Regions from separate parts of the Homo sapiens genome. Here all the other regions are linked to region 1. Evidence: promoter capture Hi-C in 16 types of primary human blood cells and fetal thymus (Javierre and others, 2016). All regions are on one chromosome and are shown on one strand. Each heading gives the region's core, a stretch centred on a gene start or on the middle of the fragment in contact. The rest is flanking DNA. Distances are from core to core; before and after follow the strand shown. Region 1 holds the start of HAAO (3-hydroxyanthranilate 3,4-dioxygenase). Region 2 overlaps THADA (THADA armadillo repeat containing). Region 3 overlaps THADA (THADA armadillo repeat containing). Region 4 has its middle 17 kb from the start of THADA.

Region 1 (5,421 bases), core at 441-2,940:
GGATATTTCAGACCCCCAAAATTCTACTTGTGGCCTTAATTATTCACATTATTTGATCACATCAGTTAAAATACAGAGTACCTATCATTCTTTCCTTTGCACTATGGTAACGGAACATCTGTTGGGCTGAAATCAATTTTTTCTCCTTTTTGTGTGAATTCATTGATGCCTTCATCCACCCACTCACCCATCCCTCCATTTAACTAACACTCAAAGCAAACTTAACACATCTCAGATCCTCAGTGCTTCATGTGTCATTGTTTACGTCTCCTCTGATTACTTGTAGATGAGAAAAATAAAGAAGGTGGTGTGAGTTACTTGGGTGCAAAACGATATTCTAGTTTTGCACTAGAAGTGCTCAGCTAAAACTGTGCTAGATAAATAACTAAAAAAAAGGAGAGAGAAAAATGAAAAAAAAAAAAAGAGCGTCAGAGAGGAAACGGGAGGGTCTCAGTGGGGAATTCGGCTTCCTGTCGTCTGGGTTTTGATTTTGAGTTGTACTAGAGGAGTCTTTATGTCTGGAATGCTGAGAAAACCAGCCCAGGCCAGGCGGGCTGTGAGGGCAGGATTTAGAGGCGTTTAGTTTCTTAAACTCTATAGTCTGGATTCCGGTGTCAGGGGCCTGAGCCATTTTCCTCCTCCCCTACCCGTCAGCTCCCACTCCCTCCAAACTTCCTAAGAAAGTTCTGAGTCCTGCAGAAAGACAGGCTTCTCCATCTTCCACACCCGCGCAGATTTCTCTTTCCTCACACATGCACGCCCAGGCCCAGCGCCCCAGCCCCTCACCCCCAGGATAACTGTTAGAGTCTCTCACACGGGGCTGTCATCATTAACACCCCGAGATTCCCGAGGGCTAGGACACTGAGGCCGGTGTCCACATCTGCCAAATTCCTCCCATAGCTGCGTGCGAACTGAGTATGTTCCTAAGACGCCTAAGGAGTTCAGCACGGGGCTCGGGGTCCACTGCGACACTGCGCGGACAGCGGCCGCTCGGCTGGGCCTCAGGTGGGGAGGGCTCGCGGTCCTGCCCTGAGCCCGGGCTCCGCAGCTCGGCGCCTGCACCGCTCCCCTCGCCGAGCCCGCGGCGGAGTCTGCCGGCCGCACGCAGCAGGTCTGGGGCTCACCTTGAATCGGGACCTGCGGGGACCGCCGTGCGGCTTCCCGCTGGGTGAGCGCCGCAGCCCTGAGTGGCGGGGCAGTCATTCCCCTTTTCCAGATGGGAAAGCCAAATCTTGAGCCCAGCGCCAGCACCGTGTTCTCAGGTGCTGGGACTTCCAACCCGCGATCTCCTCACTGTAGTATTTCTGGGAACCTTCCCTGGGATTCCCCTCGGGGCGTAGAGGGAAGGAACGTCTGGGGACAAGCGTCCAGGAAGGGTCTGGATTCTTTGTCCTCCGCCGGGAGCAGGCCCCACCGCAGGCGCCAGTGTGTGGGGCGCCCCGGAGACGGTGGCGGGGACCGAGCCCCTGCCCCGCGGAGAAGCAGAGGGCGCGGGACGCCGTTCCCCAGCGCTGCCGCCGCCGCGCTCGCCAGGGCCTGGAGTGGCGCGGAGGGCGGCGGGCTCAGACCAAAGTCCACCAGGGGGCAAAGTCCGCGGGCCCCAAGCCCCCACCACGGGGTCGCGGGGGTTTGCTCCGCCTCGTGAGCTTGGGATTCTGGTTAAAAAGGCGGCTGGGCGGAGCTGCGGGCCTCCGACGGCGGGAGGACAGCGCTGCGAGGAGGCGCCCGGGACAGTCATGGAGCGCCGCCTGGGAGTGAGGGCCTGGGTGAAGGAGAACCGGGGCTCCTTCCAGCCCCCGGTCTGCAACAAGCTCATGTGAGTCCAGCACCCCCATGGCCGCCCCCTGCCCTCGCCTCCTCCCCCTCCTCCATCTGCGCCCTCACCTTCCAGCTCCGAGTTCCTGGACCCAGAAGCTTGCAGAAGGACCGCTTTAATCTCTTGGTTCTTGGGGGAAGATGGAGACAGGCTGTTCCGGTTCCACCACATCGGTCTGTTCCTCTTTCTTGTGACTGTGGCCTTGACTTCTGAAGAAGGCTGAGCTGGTTCTCAGGCTGTAGGAGATGACATGACAGGGTGCACCTCTCCTTCCAGGGCTGAGAAACAATTCTCCAACCCCAAGTGACACTGTGCATTTTGGGAAAACTCAAAAGTGTGGGGAGGGTGGTTTTCAAGGCAGAAATGCACTAGAATGTAGGCCTGGGGGCAGCCAAATCATACACCCCAACCCTGTCCCAGAAGCCACAGGCAAAGGGGGAGGCAGAGAATCCGCTCCTTTGGGAAGATCTTGATGTCTTGCTTTTTTCAGGGCCCCTCTATGCAGGTGTGCACGAACACACACACACACACACCACACCAGACCCTCCCTAGGCCACCTCTGCCAGTAGCCTCTGCCTGCAGCACCCAACAGGGTTGGCCATCCAGCTGCCATCTTTCTCAGGCAGACCTCTCAGGCCCTCCCCTGTGGTATGGTCACCTCCCTCATCCCCCCAGTTCCATGGCGGGGCCCCACATGCCAGCTAGATCAAGGTTTACATTCCCCATTTTTGCTGTGTCCACAGGACATGGTCAGTAGGGTGGCACCTCAAGGCAAACAGCAGGCCCAGGACTATGCCAAGTGTTTTTACATCATCTCATCTCATTCTCACAGTAGCACCGTGAGGGGGGATTTTCATAAGTAACTTTTCTAGTGTCACGGAGCGCCTGTGCGATAGGCTCCAGACTCAACCCACGGAGCAGTTCGACTCCAGAGTCCACGCACACTCTTGGTTACCATGCAATACCACATGGCCAACAGTCAATATCTCCCCAAAGATCTCTTCTATCACTGTTGTTGCCCACCCCCAATTAAAGATGTAGCATCATCTTTGCCTCCTTCCAACACTTCATCCCCATCTGCAGTCGCTCCTTCTCAGTCCTCCCTTCGCTCCCCCTGAGGTCTCGCGTCCATCTGCCCGGGCCTCTCCCTAGCATTTGGTGGTTTGCTGGCATCATTGGTATTCTTGCTTCTGCTGTACCACGCCCACCTCCACCTTCGTCTTCACAAGGCAGTCTCCTTGTGTGTGTGTCTGTGTCCAAATTTCCCTCTTTTAAAAGAACACCAGACATATTGGATCAGGGGCTCACCCTACTCCAGGATGACCTCATCCTAACCTAACTACATCTCAAGGACCCTATTCCAAATAAGGTCACATTCTGCAGTACTGGGCGTTAGGACTTCAACATATAAATTTTACAGGAGGGGTTACTATTCAGCAAGGTGAGAAGCTGCTGAAGCAAGCAAGGTGAGAAGCTGCTGAAGAGTTCTGGGCAGAGGAGGGGCAGGTCTGGTTTATGCATTCTGACTGATGGGTTGAAAGAATTCTTGAGTGGAGTTGTTTAAGAATTGTCTGTATGTACCTAAATTACATCTCAGTGAAGTTGATTTTAAAAAACAACTTTCAAGCCGGGCGCAGTGGCTCATGCCTGTAATCCCAGCACTTTGGGAGGCTGAGGTGGGTGGATCATTTGGGGTCAGGAGTTCAAGACCAGACTGGCCAACATGGTGAAACCCCGTCTCTGCTAAAAATACAAAAATTACCTGGGCGTGGTGGCACGCGCCTGTAGTCCCAGCTACTCAGGAGGCCGAGGCAGGAGAATTGCTTGAACCCGGGAGGTGGAGGCTGCACTGAGCCGAAGTTGTGCCACTGCATTCCAGCCTGGGTGGCAAGCAAGACTCTATCTGAAAAAAAAAAAAAAAAAACAAACTTTCCAGGTTCCCCAGCACCCCTTAGGCCAAGACCAGACTCCATGGCTGGTCCACCCTCCTGGACCAGCCTTCTCAATCGTTCCCCAAGCTCACCCCCAGTGCTTCTAATCTCAGAGCCTCTGCACCCAGCTCTCCTGTGCACACTCTTCCCCAGTCAAGTTCCTTGCGGCTTCCCTCCCCTCCTTGAAGCTCTATGCAGCTTTAAGTTCTTTAAGCATGGACTGTTCATGACAGCCTTCTCCTGCCCTGCAACCTCATCCACCTTTCCAAACATCAGGTCCACACGTGTGTTTCCGGTTTATTGGGCCCAGCCTCCCAAAAGGGAAGGAAAAGGAAAGAGACTGGCTCTTCCGTCTTGCCTCCATGCCTCCCAGCTGGGCTGGAAAGCAGCCCACAGGACAGGACACTCAGAAAGGACCTGCCAGTCTAGTTTGGGGGCTCAGACCTCCCCCATAGCCCCTCCCCTGCCATCCACACCATCGTCATCCATGCAGGCAGCCTCTAGGCTGCTGTGCCCTGTGTGTACAAATGGTCCCAGACCCAGCGCCTCCCCTTCCCAGAGGAAAGCCCTTGCCCCTGCCCTCTGTGGCAGGGCCACCTGAGAACACCCTGAAGCCCTACACAGACACATTCTGCTGCTTATTCACCCCAGTGTCTGCACCCTGAAAGGGGACCCTGCTGTGGGGATGGGGCAGGCTGTTCTCAGGAGGTGCTGAGGTATTTTTTGCATAAAAAGGTAACACCACACCAACAGCAGAAAGACTGAGGAGTTTGGGAACCCTTTTGTTCCAAACAGCTGACTAGATGCCCCACAGACCCAACGCCAGCGTGGGAGTCAAGGAGCCTGAGACCTGGCTCAGGTTCAGTCATTCCCTGGCTTTGTGACCCTCTCTTGGCTGGCTAAATCGGCTGTAAAATGAGAGGGTTGTATTGAGTTTATTTATTTATTTATTTATTTAAGACAGAGTCTCCCCCTGTTACCCAGGCTGGAGTGCAGTAGCGCAATCTCAGCTCACTGCAACCTCACCTCTCAGGTTCAAGCGATTCTCGTGCTTCAGCCTCCCAGGTAGCTGGGATTACAGGTGCCCACCACCAGGCCTGGCTAATTTTTGTATTTTTAGTAGAGACAGGGTTTCACCATGTTGGCCAGGCTAGTGGCCTCAAGCAATACATCCGCCTCTGCCTCTCAAAGTGCTGGGATTACAGGCATGAGCCACCACGCCCGGCCGGGTTTATTTATTTTATCAAATACTTAAATAGTGCTTACTATATGCTAGGCACCATTCTGAGAGCTTCCAAATATTAATTCATGTATTCTGTTTAAACTCTGTGAGGTAAGAACTGTTCCTCTATTTTACAGATAAGGTTAGTAACATGCCCCAGGGCCTGTGCTTATAAACACATGCCACACTGACTTGACACCGCCTGAGGCCCCTGCTAGATGTCACGGTCTCCTGCATCCACTGAGCCATGCCTCCAGCCAGGGGAGAGTGCAGGGTCCTATAGTCAGACAGCATGGGTGAGTGGCAGGTCAAGGTCGTTTTGCCCCTACACTGCCCCATCCTGGGAAGGGGTCTTCAATTTGCTACTCTCCTGTAATTCGAGATCTTGATCCTGTGATCCTGGTTGATGAAGCCATAGATTCACCACCACATCATTTCCCTTGTTGGGTCAG
Region 2 (5,187 bases), core at 823-3,322, 750 kb before region 1:
TGGGTTTGGGCAGCAATCAACTTCTCCCAGCAATGTGGTTCATTGTCTGCTGTGAGAGTTCTTAAAGTCAAGCAGGCTTTTAAAGGAAACAAACCTTATTAGTAAAATGGGAGCTGCTTTGTTGTGTCAAGCTTCCAGAATTCGAGTTCTTACATCTTGTTTGATCATTAGTTGTTACTGAATTTTCTGCAGTGCTGTAAAACGTCATCAGAAGCAGCAATTTCTTAGTGATGTATTACATATTCTACATTCTCCACTAGGTGGGGATATTGTCTTGCAAAAAATTATCTCCACACTTAAATTTTTAAATTACACAAAATAATGTATAAATGTAATTATAGCCTATTGTAATAGTTTCAAACAACAGAGGTACATATGAATTAAAAACAAATTAAATTCCTCCAAGGTTTCCTCTCCAATTCCATGTCTTCCTTCTTTAGTGCAATATATTATTTTGTACTTATTTTATATGTTTATGTGTATGTACACTTACCCATTTAATGCATTGGGCTTTTTAAATAAAAACACAAATGAGGTTACCCTATAAGTACCATTTTGTCAGCGTGCTCTTTTATTTAATATAATAGTTCATCTTGGATTTTAAAAAAATATCAGTACCAAAAATACTCCTAAAACTAGAATAAGAGAGTAAGTAAGGCTAATTATAGCTTATTGGCCATGGGAATTAAATATATTTTGAAAGATAATTTGTATTTTCCTTTGATTTTAAAAGTTATATTCTACTCCTTTACTAATGCAACAGTCATGCTCACCAAAATAAATAAGGAGTGTATTTATTATAGTCATCCATATCATACTTTATGACAGAGAGGCAGAGTTTGTTTAATCTTTGGAAATTAAAGATTAAACAAGTTTTGGAACAATATTGTGTTTTATTTTAAAATTTAATTTGAAAATAATAAATTAAAATACTGGGCCTGGCATGGTGGCTCATGTCTATAATCCCAGCACTTTGGGAGGCCCAAGCGAGAGAATTGCTTTAGTCCAGGAGGTGATGTGGTGAAACCCTGTCTTTACAAAAAAATACAAAAATTAACTGGGTGTGGTGGCGCATACCTGTAGTCCCAGCTACTAGGGAGGCTGAAGTAGAAGGATTGCATGAGCCTGGGAGGTCAAGGCTGCAGTGAGCCATGAGCATGCTACTGCACCCCAGCCTGGGTGACAGAGCGAGACCCTGTCTCCAAAAAAGAAAAAAAAAAAAACTTAGCATGATTTCTTCTCATAACACATGCTCGACAAATGTTAGCTTCTTTCCTTCTGAGTAAATATAACATGACAAATCGGGTTTGTTCAAGCAGATTATTCTTGGGGAAATTATGAATAAGCTTGTTTTTAGAAACCTGGGATATGAGTAATCAAGGTTGCAATCGTTGTGTTTTTTTTTGTTTAAGGTAAAGAAGTAAAAACATGTGATGTAACTGCGCAGATGGTGCTGGTATGTTGTTGGAGAAGTATGAAGGAAGTTGCTTTACTTTTAGGCATGTTGTGCCAGCTTCTGCCCATGCAGCCTGTGCCAGAATCTTCTGATGGATTATTGACGGTGGAGCAGGTAAGGCACATGTTTATTCCACCATGTATAATTTCTGGTCAACGCATAAATCACTTTTTTTTTTATAACCCAACTCTAAAAAAAGGTTTAAAATTTTTCTTGAATAAAATCATACAAATGTTAACTGAAGAAAGTTCATGGTAATTTAGAATGTTAGACTTTATAATACATTTCAAAACTGTGGCATTTTTAGAAATTTTTTCTAAGGTATATAAATAACTGTAGATTTTACCTCACTTTTAACTGTAGTTTTATCTCTAATTTTTATTTCTCCATTTCACATACACAGACTTAAACTTTAGCTTAAAATTGTCTTATTTAGTAAAACTCCACAAATCTCTTAAATTTTGGAAAGAAAAAAAGTAACATGTTGGTTGATTATGGATCTCATGTTTCCCACTGCATTGATAATAAAGTTGTAGTCTTGGTTTTTTTGGCTGACTTTTGTTTTAAGACCACAAAGTTAGTTCACCATCTGGGACTGTTCAAGTGACTTGAGTGCGGTGTTTACAAGAAGTTAGCTTACCACAAGCATTTCATTTGGAAATATTTTAGATTTATTAGATTTCTGTTTTTAATTGATTCCCTCTTCCTTTCCATATGGTTTTGACAAATCCATTTCCCACCATTTTTCAGCAAAGATATATAACATGTACTTTCATTTTTAACTTTTTAAAAATAAAGGCAACTTTTTCCCTAGGGTGTTACAATTCAAGAACAAAACAAATATTGTAGTATGCTAATGCTGATTATTTCTATAATAACCACATGACTAGTTCCATGGAAATAATGCTAATACTTTTTTTCTCACACTCTGTGGCTTATGTTGCATGCATCTGGTTAACAGCTGCGCTTGTGATGTTGCAAGGCCTTGAGATGAAGAAAGGCAAAGGCGCACAGGACATTTCAGGCATCATTATGTTCCTTATTCTCTTCCAAATCAAATAGGCGTCAGTGTCCTAGAGTTACTTGCAGTCATTGCTGGTGACTGGCTGTAGTGCCAATGCCAACATCTTTGCTGAGGAATCCAGCTATGATTAATGATTACTTCACTGATGTTCACCATCTTGCTAAGAAGTAAACATGTGCTAGAGGCCTTTGATTTCCCAACTTCTCTTTCCAAGGACAAGTTAAAACATTTAGTTTTTTGGGTTTGTTGGGTAGTGTTTAAAAAACAAATTAAGGGAAGTGTATTTTGCTTTTACTGTAACTAAGACGTGAAAGCTTCCTATGAACATTATTTTGCCTTGACACTTTTCACATAGCACCCAAATCTTATGTATTTAATTTGTGTGCGACAGCCGTGTTAAAATTGGGAATTAATGTAAAATAAGAGATGTTTGTTAAAAAAAAAAACAATTATCACAAAAAGACAGGTTCTTATAAACCAAAGAATTCTTCCAGTGACTGCTTAAATAAAAAATAAGATCCTGACTGTTTTTCTGTAAAACATTAGTTTCCGTTGTAATGAGGTCCAGTCATTTTTCTATGTTGCCATTCACATGGTAACCTCACATACATAGGCGTGAGAAGAAACTGATGACTGAATGAGCGATGAACTGTATATGTAATAGCAGTGTTCTAACACTGGAACCCCGTCCCCTATGAAAAACTTGATTCTTCGTATTGCTGACTTTAGCTAAAGAAATGTCTCAGTTTAGGAGTCAATAAAAATCCAAAGTCATCAAGAAATTAGTGTTATTTACATTACTGGAGAATTCCTGCTTTTAAACATAACCTTTTGCCCCATGAACTTCCTTTAAATTAATAATAATTAAATATACTTACATGTGCTTAAAACCTTTAAGAGTTAAAAATATAAATGACAGAGAAGAACATCATTTACATTGGAATGGCTGGGCCACACCTGAGGTACACCCTTCCAAGAGCATAGTTGCCCTGGCAAAGCTAGATCTGTGCCTAGTGGTAAAACTATGAGTTTAAGAGTCAAGCCTTAGGTGAATGTGACTGCCGTCTGAATACACGGAGGCAGTGAAGTGACTTGCAGGCAGAATGCAACCCTAGTTAGAGGGGAGAATGTGGAACTTGCATTTCTTATTCTTCAGAGTAGTAACTGTGATCTACTTTTCTCTCAATGGATGAAGAAAGCCATTCCATACAGTCTAAAATACAATTCTATTCTATTTTGAAATTTGATGACTTGAATGTAGATGACAGTCCGTTTAAAATCATCCTGATTTTACAGCTCCTTGTTTAAACCGGTGGCCACTTAAATCCCCCATATAGGAGTATAAAAGGTAGGGAGATTACAGTTTGGGGTTTTTTGTTGCTGTGTGGGGAGAAGAAATGGGGCTTGTTTATAATTCTGAGTTTTCAGTGATATATTCACAAACCATTAGAGCTGGAAGGATCATAGAGATGATATTATCCAGCTCTCTTGGACAAGAGGAAGCTGAACCCTGGATGTTACCTGGTTTGCCCAAGATTGCAAAGCTAGTTTGTGGCAGCTCTGGAACAGGAACCCAGTTCTTCTCCTTGCCAGCCTGTGTTCTGACATGGCACAGTGCTGCCTTTGTGAGCTGCTCATTTAATTTTTCTTTAAGTTTAATTTTCTGTATTTCCCATATCCAGGTAAATTTTCGCAAGCAACAGGACAGTAAGATGACTTGCTACTGAACTTTTTCTTAAATGATTGATTCCCTAGAGCACTTCCTGTGAAGCAGTGTGCTGTCACCAGTTTCTCCAGGAGGAAAATGTGTTCATTCAGAGGCATGTCTGACTTTCCTCCTTCACTGTAATCACATAATGAAAGGTTCTTTCATAGTGTTCCTGTACAAGAGGCAGAGATAAAACCAACTTTGAGGGATGTAAGTGGAGACCCTTCAAGAGTAAGCAGTACACACAACCTTATCTCACAACTTCCTGACTAGTTGATGTGTGTGGAGTTTTCAAACTTGATGTTTTGCTGATGTAGAGCTTTTGCTTGTTATATTTTGTTGGTTCTCTTTTCATGGGCTATCTGATACCCAGTGCCTACTGATTTTTTAAAACAGCTTCCTCCACCTGGAGTACTATATGAACTTAAGTTTATATGTATTTCCCTAATATTCTTAAAAAGAAACTACTAGGTAGATTTTTCATTCATGCTTTCCCTCTGCAGTAATTATCGCCACAGAAATCACACGAGTAAGATTGCCAACTATTAGAAATTGCTATTTTAAAACATTCTTTTTTAGTTTAGTTTTTTTTTTTTTTTTTGAGTCTGGGTCCCATTCTGGCGCCCAAGCTAGAGTGCTGTGGTTCCATTTTGACTCACTTCAGCCTCAACCTCCTGGGCTTAAGCCTCCCAAATATTTGGGACTATAGGTGTGTGCTACCACTCCTGGCTAATTTTTGTAGAGACGGGATCTCACCATGTTGCCAGGCTGGTTTTGAATTCCTGGACTAAAGCGATCCTCCCACCTCAGCCTCCCAAAGGGCTAAGATTACAGGCATGAGCTACCATGCCCGGTCTAAAAATTGTATGTTAGATTCTGTTGTAACTTTTATGATGCCCAGAGTTAACTACATTGATGTATTCCCTCAGTAGTGTCTTTTGTTATTACTTTAGATTTTCTGTAATGAACTACAAATGGGATATATGTTTATTCACAAGT
Region 3 (5,817 bases), core at 1,634-4,133, 780 kb before region 1:
ACATGTGTAGGCCGGGCATGGTGGCTCAAGCCTGTAATCCCAGGCTTGCAGATCTCAGGCAGGTGGATCACTTGAGGTCAGGAGTTCAAGACCAGCCTGGTCAACATGGTGAAACCCTGTCTCTACTAAAAATACAAAAAATTATCTAGGCATGGGGGCATGCGCCTGTAATCCCAGCTACTGAGGCGGCTGAGGCAGGAGAATCGCTTGAACCTGGGAGGCAGGGGTTGCAGTGAGCCGAGATCGCACCACTGCACTCCAGCCTGGGTGACAGCAAGACCCTGTCTCAAATAAATAAATAAATAAATAACTTGTGTAATCATCACAGTCAAGGTAGTGAATATTTCCATCATCCCCCAAATTTCCCTATGTCCCTTCCTGGACTATTATTATTTTTGAGACAAAGTCTCGCTTTGTCACCCAGGCTGGAGTGTAGTGGCATGAGCACAGCTCATTGCAGTCTCACTCCTGAGCTCAAGCAATCCTCCCACCTCAGCTTCCCAAGTAGCTGGGACTGTAGGTGTGTGTCACCACACCCAGCTAAATTTTTAAATTTTTTATAGAGATGGGGTTTCACTATATTGCCTAGGCTGATCTTGAACTGCTTTCTGGATTATTTTTTACAAGGTAAAAAGAATCATATACAAATTTGAGATCTGTTTTGGCTTTACTTGTAGTTTTTTGTTCTTGTAAATTTAATAATTGAAATTTGTGGTCATTCTGTGTATTTAATATTTTTAAAGTCTAAATTGTTATAAAATGAAATTTCTTTTACTAATCAGTTTACAATAATGGCTCATGGCTCATTTTTCTTCAGGATTAAAGAGCCAACGCTGGAAATGTTTCTGTCTAGAATCTTAGCATCCTGGACTAATTCAGCCATACAAGTCCTTGAATCAAGTTCCCCGAGCCTAACGGACAGCCTGAATGGGAATTCAAGTATAGTTGGGAGACTTTTGGAATATGTCTATACCCATTGGGAACATCCATTGGATGCTCTGAGACACCAAACCAAAATCATGTTCAAAAACCTTCTCCAAATGCACCGGCTCACTGTGGAAGGTGCAGATTTCGTCCCTGATCCTTTCTTTGTGGAATTGACTGAGAGTCTTTTACGATTGGAATGGCATATTAAAGGAAAGTACACGTGCCTTGGTTGTTTGGTAGAGTGCATAGGAGTTGAACATATTTTGGCTATAGATAAAACTATTCCATCTCAAATCTTAGAGGTGATGGGAGACCAGTCATTGGTACCTTATGCAAGTGACCTCTTGGAAACCATGTTTAGAAATCATAAGAGTCATTTGAAATCCCAGACTGCTGAGAGTTCTTGGATTGACCAGTGGCATGAGACTTGGGTTTCTCCTCTCCTTTTTATATTGTGTGAAGGAAACTTGGATCAAAAATCTTACGTGATTGATTATTACTTGCCAAAATTATTAAGTTACAGCCCTGAAAGCTTACAGTACATGGTAAAGATTCTTCAGACTTCTATTGATGCTAAAACTGGTAAGAAAAATGCATTTTTGTTTTAGTAGTTTCTAATTATGATGCTTAAATGTAGGTAGCTATGCAGATACTAATCATATTCAAATTTAAATATCACTTCTATAAATAGTAAAGGAAGAGATTAATGATAGATGTTTCAGTTTGAAACGAATGTTCCTATATATAGCTGAATGGAGTTTTTTGGCTGAAGTCATTTCTACAAGCTAAAGAATAATTCCACTTAAAATGATAAACTTTCCTGTATTACAAGGTTTTAATTCATTTTTTCAAGTTCTGAATTTATTTTATTGTATCACTGAAATAAAAGTTTGTGTGTCTTATATAATGTGCTTATTCAAGTCATTGAGACAATAATTAAAAATTGTGTTAGGCAAGGTTAAAGACAGGTAACTTGGCAGTAGCAAGTTTTTTTCTCTGGGGAAGTGACAAAATTCAGAGGCATGATCTCAAGAAATAGCCATCTATAGTTATTTAGAATAGGGGTAAACATCCCATTGAAACTCACAAACCCTACAGGAATCACTGCATTCAAGCATAATTCAGGATGTGTAAAGTGATGATCATGACACATCATATAAATCTTAAAATTATTACATTCTGTTTAACAAAGCAAGAATGTAGTATCGTACAGCATAATTTTAAGAAATATTTTCAACTAAAATTGTTAAAAACGTTCAGTACTTCAAAGAGTAACCATGAGGTAGCAGGAAAATTTGATTCCTGTATGCAAAAATAAGCCATTATTTGTAATTTTTGACAACACTTGTTCTTGAGTTTTTGAAAAGCCATCTGAAATTCAGGATTCAAGAATCTGTTCTGAAGTAAGGTTGTCTTTATTTTTATATCAAGCTGCCCTGTCTTCTTGGTAATGGCTGACGTCCTAGCCTCTGAAACCAGCAGGCTCTTTGTGTTCCTTTTTTAATCTTTACTAGTGAGAAACAGCCACTCTAAAATATGCAGAGAGGTTCAGTGTTTACTTTTAGAGAAGTAATAGTCTGTAGCCACTGATGTGCTTATTTCTCCACCTGATTTTATTTCCTGATTTGCTGCCTGATTCCCTTTCTAGGTGTTAGGGAAAAAGCAAAAATGTTAGCAGGTAAATAATGATTTGTTTATGTTAACGATAAGAGAATTATGCTTACTTGAAATGATTGACAAAAGGGCAAATCATATTAAATAATGATTATTTTAGAATAGGAACTTTAATTTGTGTTAGAAATGAGTTTAAAATGTGATTTTTATTTATTGAAATAAAATGTTAATTGGAAACATGAAAATTAGCAGCTGATAATTATAGTAGTCATTGCATAATACAGTAATGGTCTTTGTTATTGTGCTTTCAGGACAAGAGCAATCTTTCCCATCCTTAGGGTCTTGTAATAGCAGGGGGGCTCTGGGAGCTTTGATGGCATGTCTGCGAATAGCTAGAGCTCATGGACATCTTCAGTCTGCAACTGATACCTGGGAGAACCTCGTGTCTGATGCAAGAATAAAGCAAGGCTTAATTCATCAGCATTGCCAAGTAAGTAAAGAAAATTACCTGGATTTGTACATGCAGTAGATCCCTTTCATGTAGCAGTTCAATATAGAGGCCCCTACATTGTATCCTGAACTGTTTTAGGGAGTTCATAAAGAGAATGAGTAGAAACCCTAGTCTCCCAACTAAACTTTCAGTAGGCCCTTTCTTCAAGCTACTGAAAGTTTAGTTGAGGATGTAAGAAAACTTACATAAAACAACTGGAAACTCTTAGAACTGACAATACAGATACAAGCATGCCATCATGTGCCCTTAAATACATAAGGACTCGCTTGGAAGGCTCAGAAGAGACTGATCAGAGCAGGTGGTGCTTGATTAGGAAAGTGATAGATATGATTAGAAAAGAGGAAGCCTTGGAGCAGCATACAAAATGGAGGGACCCAAATGAGCAAGGTCTGGAGGATGATTAAGAACATTGCTTATCAGGGGTGGAGTGTTTTGGACATTTTTTGGAAAGGCCTAATGCTAGGCTAAAGACTTAGTTGGTTCCCAGGCACCAGCTGGTTTTACTAAGCTAAACCAAAGCTACTCTGTTTTCAGCAAGGAGTTACATTAGTGGAAACGTGAGTTTCCAGAGTGGGAGCAGAAAGAAACCAGGAAACCAGTTAGAAGTGTCTGGCAGTAATTTAAGAGTGAGGTGATGGGGTAAAAGGGGTCACTGGAAAAAAAGAAAAAGGAATGAAGCTGAGCATTACCACGGAATAAAAATCTTTAAGATTGTTGCATTTTATAAATCCCCAATTTACATGTTTAATAAAAGAATTGTATAGGAAATAACCCTAGGATCTTTGAGATTAGGAAACCTTTCTGAGGTACCTATTGGTGAACTGAAGTTTACTTTTTTCCTTTTGTAGCCTATGTAAGTAAGCAATTCAAGTGATTTAGGCTTTGCTTATTTCTTGGAAAATTAACATTTTATTGCTTGATGTTTTTTAGGTAAGGATAGATACATTAGGCTTGCTTTGTGAAAGTAATCGGAGCACAGAAATTGTTTCCATGGAAGAAATGCAGTGGATTCAGTTCTTTATTACATACAATCTTAACAGCCAGTCTCCAGGAGTGCGGCAACAGATCTGTTCTCTTCTTAAAAAGGTAGAATTTCCCATCAGAAGGCATAGGGAAGTGGTGAACTTTGTTTGGGAAATCGTTTTTAAAAAGAGCCCAGATTTTGGGAGCGTGTGGGAATGGTCATGGAATTGGGCTACCACATCTGTTCATGACGGCCGTTCTGTGACCTGTTCTCTCATTCCATAAAGCTTACATTTGGGATTAAAATCCAGAGTGAAAAGCACGCACCCCTCCCCCCACCATTTTTTTTCAGGAGTTCAGAATCAGCCTGGGCAACACAGTCAAACCCCATCTCTACTAAAATACAAAAAAATTAGCCGGTTGTGGCAGTGTGTGCCTGTAGTCCTAGCTATTTGGGAGGCTGAAGCAGGAGAATTGCTTGAACCTAGGAGCGGAGGTTGCAGTGAGCCGAGATTGTACCACTGCACTCCAGCCTGGGCAACAGAGTGAGACTCGGTCTCCAAAAAAAAAAAAAAAAAAATAGTCTTGCTCTGTCAGCCAGGCTGGAGTGCAGTGGTGTGATCATAGCTCACTGTACCCTCAACCTCCCAGGCTCAAGCGATTCTTCCTCCCCAGCCTCTGAAGTAGCTGGGATGACAGGGGCACACCACCATGCCTGACTAATATTTAATTTTTTTTTAGAGATAGTGTCTTGCTCTGTTACCCAGGCTGGTCTTAAACTCCTGGACTCTAGTGGTCCTGCCACCTCAGCCTCCCAAAGTGTTGTGGTTACAGGCATGAGCCACCACACATGGCCAAAAGGCCTTTCATTTTGGTGTAGTAAATCAACCTTGGGCTCTTTTTTGTAAAGAAAAAGTCTAATGCTGGAGTTAAGGTAGTTTTAAGAAAACTTGGTAACAGCATTTTTATAGTTTAAGCACCTCAAAAGATCATTATCAAATAATCTAACTTGAATTAATTGCACACACATTTATGGGGTGAAGAATTGGTAAAGTAGGGAAATGACTAAATCATCTTCAGGTTTGTGCCAACTTAAAGGAAACAGAATTGTGGTTTAATGACAGTATTCTGCTTTGCAGTAATAGTTTGTTTTTGGTATAAAAATTATTTTCTGTCAAAAAGAAACATTATAAAATATTAAGAGCTTAAAAATCTGTACTCTTCTTGCCTGAAGTTTTATTCTAAATAATTTGCCTCTCAGGCTGACATTTAAATTTAATGTGTGGCTCACCTGTGCTTCATTTCCTTTGTTTCAAAAGTTGTTTTGTAGGATACAGGAAAGTTCTCAGGTACTTTATAAATTGGAGCAGAGTAAATCCAAACGTGAACCAGAGAATGAGTTAACCAAACAGCACCCTTCTGTTTCTTTACAGCAGTATAAGGTAGGTGATATATTTCTAAACATGAGAGTTTTTTTTTAAATTAAAAAGTATTATGAATAAGCATTAAAGGGAAATAAATGGAAGTCTCTTGGTAAATTGTGTTTCTGTGTTTTTTTCCTTCAAGCTGAGTATTACCTATTTCTGGTGCTTTGGTACTCTACTTGATGTAGCCTGGGTTATGGAACCAGTGCTGTACCGGAGGACTGTTACAGAATGACGTTAGTGGGCTAACCTCAATCACTTTCAGCTTATGTGGGCGAGATGAATTTAGTACTTTTAACAGAAGGGTAATTGACAGTACTGAACTCTGTCCCTCTCCAGGGCAGAAGACTGCTGTTGCTGGGCCTGTTTTCTCTTTAG
Region 4 (5,420 bases), core at 1,406-3,905, 820 kb before region 1:
AGCACTTCGGGAGGCTGAGGCAGGAGGATTGCTTGAGCTCAGGAGTTCCAGACCAGCTTAGGCACGGTGATGAAACCCCATCTCTACAAAAGATACAAAAATTAGCCGGCTGTGGTGGCACACACCTGTGGTCCCAGTGATTTGGGGGGCTGAAGCGGGAGGATCACTTGAGCCTGGGAGGTTGAGGCTGTAGCAAGCCAAGACGGCACCACTGCACTCCCACCTGGATGACAGAGTGAGACTCTGTCTCCAAAAATAAATAAATAAACAATTCTTTGAAATTTTTTCTTTTTTTTTTTTGAGACAGAATCTGTCACCCAGGCTGGAGTGCACTTGTATGATCTCAGCTCACTGTAACCTCTGCCACCCTGGTTCAAGCGATTCTCCTGCCTCAGCCTCCCGAGTAGCTGGGATTACAGGTGCCTGCTACCGTGCCTGGCTAATTTTTGTATTTTTAGTAGGGACAGGGCTTCACTGTATTGGTCAGGCTTGTCTTGAACTCCTGACTTCGTGATCCACCTGCCTCGGCCTCCCAAAGTGCTGGGATTACAGGTATGAGCCACTGTGCCCAGCCTCCCTGAACTTATTTTAAAGCAAGAAAACCAACTGATTTCTTGAAATTTGTTTAATATAATAGATATTATTGAAGAATTTTACTTACAAATCTTTCTTTTTTGTTTCCTTAAGGGAAAAAAAATACCTTTTATTTGAAAAAAAAATTAACTTTTCCTCTGCATCTAATGATTTTTTTCCTCTTGGTCTCCTTTTTTCTTACCTGTGTCACCCTAGATCATCCTATTATTTGCTATTAAAATTAATGGCAAATCCGCAATTACTTTCACACCAGCCTAACATTGTTGCTCTTTCTTCAGGACCGCATTTCTTATCTGCTCTAGCCAATGCTTCAAGATTTCTTTCTCAGCTCTTAGCTCTTCTCTCTCTCTCTCTCTCTTTTTTTTTTTTTTTTTTGAGACAGAATCTTGCTCCGTCACCCAGGCTGGAGTGCAGTGGTGCGATCTCGGCTCACTGCAACCTCCGCCACCTGGGTTCACGCCATTCTCCTGCCTCAGCCTCCCAAATAGCTGGGATTACAGGTGCCCCGCACCACGCCTGGCTAAATTTTTGTATTTTTAGTAGAGACTGGGTTTCACCGTGTTAGCCAGGATGGTCTCAATCTCCTGACCTTGTGATCCGCCCACCTCGGCCTCCCAAAGTGCTGGGATTACAGGCTTGAGCCACTGCACCTGGCCTCTTAGCTTTCTTTCACACCTTACATGGATATTGCTACCAATAGGATCCAGAGGTCACGTAGAACATACTAAGGGCTAATTCTGCATAAAAAAGAATTAAACTTTTTTTTTTTTTAAGAGTCAGAGTCTTGCTCGGGCTGCAGTGCAGTGGTGCGATCTTGGCTCACTGCAACCTTGACCTCCTGGGTTCAAGCAATCCTCCTGCCTCAGCCTCTCGAGTAGCATGCACCACCAGGCCTGGCTAATTTTTTGTATTATTATTGTATTTTGTATTATTGTATTAATACAATAATACAAAAAATAATATTTCGTATTATTTTTTGTAGAGACAGGGTCCCCCTATGTTGCCCAGGCTTGTCTCAAAGTCCTGGCCTCAAGTGATCCACCCGCCTCAGCCTCCCAAAGTGCTAGGATTACAGTTGTGAGCCACCATGCCTGGCCAAGAATTATACTCTTATAGACAATTGAAAAATAGTCTGCCAGGCCCTCAAACCTCAAGGCTCTTGAGGTATCAGGTGTATCATCTGTTACCCCTATGCACTTACATCTCTAACTCTCGCTCAAGCTGGTATTCTTTTTCTCTGCATTTTTGCAAGACTACAGAATGGCATTCAGGCCCATTGAGGTCAGTTTATAAAATGCTACTGGGGCACTTGTTTGCCAGACACTATAACAGGAACTAGAGGAATAAAGATAGTACCGGCCCTCCAGGATCCTGCCATCTGATGGGGTAGACATTCATACAAACAGATCATTCCATACAAAATTGTAAATGTTAACAAAGAGGTAGATACAGTGTGCTATCAGAGGACAATAACAGGCATTTAGCACAATCTAGGGGTTAAGAAAGGTTTCTAGAGGCAATAACAGCTGATTTGAGTCTTAAAAGATGTGTATGAGTCAGCCAGGCCCACATTACTAGAGTATTATGTGCAGGTCACGAGCGGAGGTGGGAAAGGTAGCCCATAAGGGTAATGTATTCCCCCAAGAAGCAGCTACTGTATTCTATAGGCCATAGGGACCCGCTGAAGAGATTTAAGCAGAGAAGTCCCTTGGATTTTGGAAAAAACATTTGCACTGGCACAACATGAAGGATGGCTCTAAAGTAGTGGTTCTCAATGTGCGTGGACTAGCAGCTTTAGCATCTCCTGGAACTTGTTAGAAATGCAAATTCTCGAGCCCCATCCCAGACCTATTGAATCAGAAACTCTGGAAGCAGGGCCCAGCCGTAAGTGTTTTAACAAGACCTGCAGGTGATTCTGATATAGATCAAAGTTTGGAGACCACTACTCTAAATCAGCAGGAAAAACTTGACAGTATCTGGAACAGGGCTTAGATTAGGGTGAAGACAGCAAGGTGCAAAATTTAAAAAGCTCCAAAATCCTCAGTAATCAAAAGAAGTAACATTTTAATACAATACCAGGCTCTTTTCAAATTCCTAGCCTCAAGCAGTCCTCCCACCGTGGCCTCCCAAAGTGCTGGGATTACAGACACCACTGCACCCGACCCAAAATTCTAAATAAAGGCAGGCTGTTTGTTTTTAGACCCCGCGTTATTGTGCAATGGGGACAGTTGTTTTCCATCAGCTTGGGGTTCCCAAAGTCCACATGGCTGTCACATTCCCCATCAGGCAGATTTATGGGGATTGACAAAGGCGAGTGGACAGATGGGGTGACACGGGTCAGGGCCAGCTGTTGAGAGCCATGCAGCACCGGACCCTCCATACTTAGAAGGGCTCCATGCTTGGTTTAATGCTCTGCTGTCACTGTTTTGAAGTTCTTAATAAGTTTTGAAGAAGAGGACCTGCATTTTCGTTTTGCACTGGGCCCTCAAAGTTTCCGTCAAATTGTTTTGGGGGGTCTTTTTTTCCTCCCTTCAAGTTTTATTCCAGCATAGTGTAAATACTGTCTTTTTATTGTTGTAGAACTTTTATTAACTTATGAGGTGACATTTTGGTAAGTGTACGTAGGGCACACATTTTTTTCTTTTGCCTCAGGCTCCAATGTGACTTAGCACAGTACAGGGCTAGAGACATTTTTTGATCGTCACAACTTGGTGATGCTACTGCCATCTAGTGGGGAGTGGTCGGGGTGCTGCTAAAAACCCTACAATGCATGGGACAGTCCCCCACAACAAGGAGTTATGCCATCCAAAATGTCAACAGTGCTGAGATTGATAAATTCCAATCTATAGGGAAAGCAGGTTGTTAACAGTGTCTCAGAATGGGGCAGTAATAGCAAATATGGAACTATCTAGAACTCAATGATTAATCAGCTAGGAGGAAGTGGAGTTTAAGAGAAAAAGACTTACAGAATTTTTGCTTGTTTAGGGCATAAGTTAGTATAGCAAATTCAGGAGGAGGAAAGAGGCAGAAAGAAGTGAGGCAAGGCCGGGCGCAGTGGCTCACGCCTGTAATCCCAGCACTTTACAAGGCTGAGGTGGGTGGATCATGAGGTCAAGAGATCAAGGCCGTCCTGGCCAACATGGTGAAACCCCGTCTCTACTGAAAATACAAAAATTATCTGGGCGTGGTGGCGTGGGCCTGTAGTGCCAGCTACTTGGGAGGCTGAGGCAGGAGAATCTGCTTGAACCCAGGAGGTGGAGGTTGCAGTGAGCCGAGATCATGCCACTGCACTCCAGCCTGGCGACAGAGCGAGCATCTGTCTCAAAAAAAAAAAAAAAAAAAAAAGAAAAAGAAAAAGAAAAAGAAAAGAAAAGAAAAGGTAAAGAAAGAAGTGAGGCAAAAAGAGATAGGAGTTTGAGGCTGGACATCAAATGGAGGCGTTTGCTTCAGGGCAAGCATCTTGAAGTTCTGAGGAGAGAGATTTTAGAATTGTCAACAGGTACCTCTATTGTGAACCTCTGCCCCGCCCAACGCCTCTGGACAATTCTATTCCCGCTGCCTTAGAGAATGGATGCCACAGCAAAACCAGGAGACAAGAAAGGCAATTTTAGGCTTTTTAAGTCCCCAAATGATTTTTCTGAAACTCATGGTGGAGAAATAGTTCTGTACATTTCAAATATTTAAGCCTAACGAGCTCATAGGATGGAGTTGATTGTCATGCTATAAGTAACAGGCTAGGGACAACAGGCAAGGATCCAAGTACTTTTCCCTTTTCCCTGCGAGGAAATAAAGATTCTACAGGTGTGGGAAGAAGAAAAACAAAAAGGATGTAGAGAAAGAAACATCTGGGACAACAGAATTGGGTTGGGGTGCATCATGTGGCCACATGCAGAATCAGCACCAAAACCTCCCCAGGCTCCACCTAAGCAGGTACCAAGGAGCTGACTTTCCTGATTTTTCCAAGGTGCTGTATCTGGGGAGATCAATACAAGATCAGCAGATAGAATATTCCCCAGGAATGACACCTACCTATGGGCAGACCTCCTTCCCAACAGCTCAGAACAGGTGTAGGCCCCAGGATAGAGGGAAAGCCCCATCACCTATTCTTAGGTAGCACTGAAGGGAGCCACATTCCACTGGGGATGAATGCCAAGGTACTCTCCCACTGCTTTGGTTAAGTTTCATAGGTGTTTATCTAGAATTGTTTCCAGATGGTTTTTTCTTCTTTTTCAGTTTTTATATCAGCAGAGGGTAAATTCAGTTTTCATACCAAATGTTTTCAGCTTTCTTTACTGCCATTAATAAAAGGCAAGGGCCAGACGCAATGGCTCATACCTGCCATCCTAGCACTTTGGGAGACCGAGGTGGGCAGATCGCTTGAGCCCAGGAGTTTGAGATCAGCCTGGGCAACATGGCAAACCTTGTCTCTACAAAGAATACAAAAATTAGCCAGGCATCGTGGCGTGTGCCTGTAGTCCCAGCAACTTGAGACGCTGAGGTGGGAGGATCACCTAAGCCCAGGGAGGTCAAGGCTGCAGTGAGCCATGATCACACCACTACATTCCAGCCTGGATGATAGAGTGAGACCCCATCTCAAAAAAAAATAATAATAAAATAAAAGGAAAGGATCCAGTCACTGTGTAATCCCAGGACTTTGGGAGGCTGAGGTGGGAGGAATGCTTGAGCCCAGGAGTTTGAAACACTTCTGGGCAACAGAGCGAGACCCTGTCTCAAACATAAAAAGAAAAGGCAAGGTTTTGCTTGTTTGTTTTAGAGACAGGATCTAACTCTCCTGTCCAGGCCAGAGTGCAATGGTGCAATCATAG

What was found. The method cuts DNA at HindIII sites, captures the fragments that hold promoters and counts their contacts. A CHiCAGO score of 5 or more calls a contact.
Region 2: a fragment that was not itself captured here is called in contact with the fragment with the promoter of HAAO in region 1 in 5 of 17 cell types (total B cells, naive B cells, fetal thymus and 2 more); the score reaches 8.5 in total B cells.
Region 3: a fragment that was not itself captured here is called in contact with the fragment with the promoter of HAAO in region 1 in 1 of 17 cell types (monocytes); the score reaches 10.1 in monocytes.
Region 4: a contact is called between a fragment that was not itself captured here and the fragment with the promoter of HAAO in region 1, in 2 of 17 cell types (naive B cells and total B cells). The highest score is 8.6, in naive B cells.

Annotation. Positions count from the first base shown.
Region 1 is chr2:42,788,852-42,794,272 of GRCh38, reverse strand. It overlaps HAAO (3-hydroxyanthranilate 3,4-dioxygenase), which reads left to right and starts at 1,690. Exons shown (of 10, transcript NM_012205.3): 1 at 1,690-1,816. The coding sequence starts at 1,737. RefSeq lists silencers at 954-1,043, 1,124-1,223, 1,404-1,843. The HindIII fragment of the contact is 4,290 bases long and covers 1-1,916 here.
Region 2 is chr2:43,537,542-43,542,728 of GRCh38, reverse strand. THADA (THADA armadillo repeat containing) reads left to right here. Exons shown (of 38, transcript NM_022065.5): 21 at 1,413-1,570. Among named protein-coding and RNA genes, the nearest start is that of THADA, 56 kb to the left of the region's middle. The HindIII fragment of the contact is 1,448 bases long and covers 1,349-2,796 here.
Region 3 is chr2:43,570,028-43,575,844 of GRCh38, reverse strand. THADA (THADA armadillo repeat containing) reads left to right here. Exons shown (of 38, transcript NM_022065.5): 11 at 818-1,509; 12 at 2,853-3,031; 13 at 3,983-4,138; 14 at 5,335-5,457. Among named protein-coding and RNA genes, the nearest start is that of THADA, 23 kb to the left of the region's middle. The HindIII fragment of the contact is 2,843 bases long and covers 1,462-4,304 here.
Region 4 is chr2:43,610,552-43,615,971 of GRCh38, reverse strand. No RefSeq gene overlaps it. Among named protein-coding and RNA genes, the nearest start is that of THADA, 17 kb to the right of the region's middle. The HindIII fragment of the contact is 9,006 bases long and covers 1-5,420 here.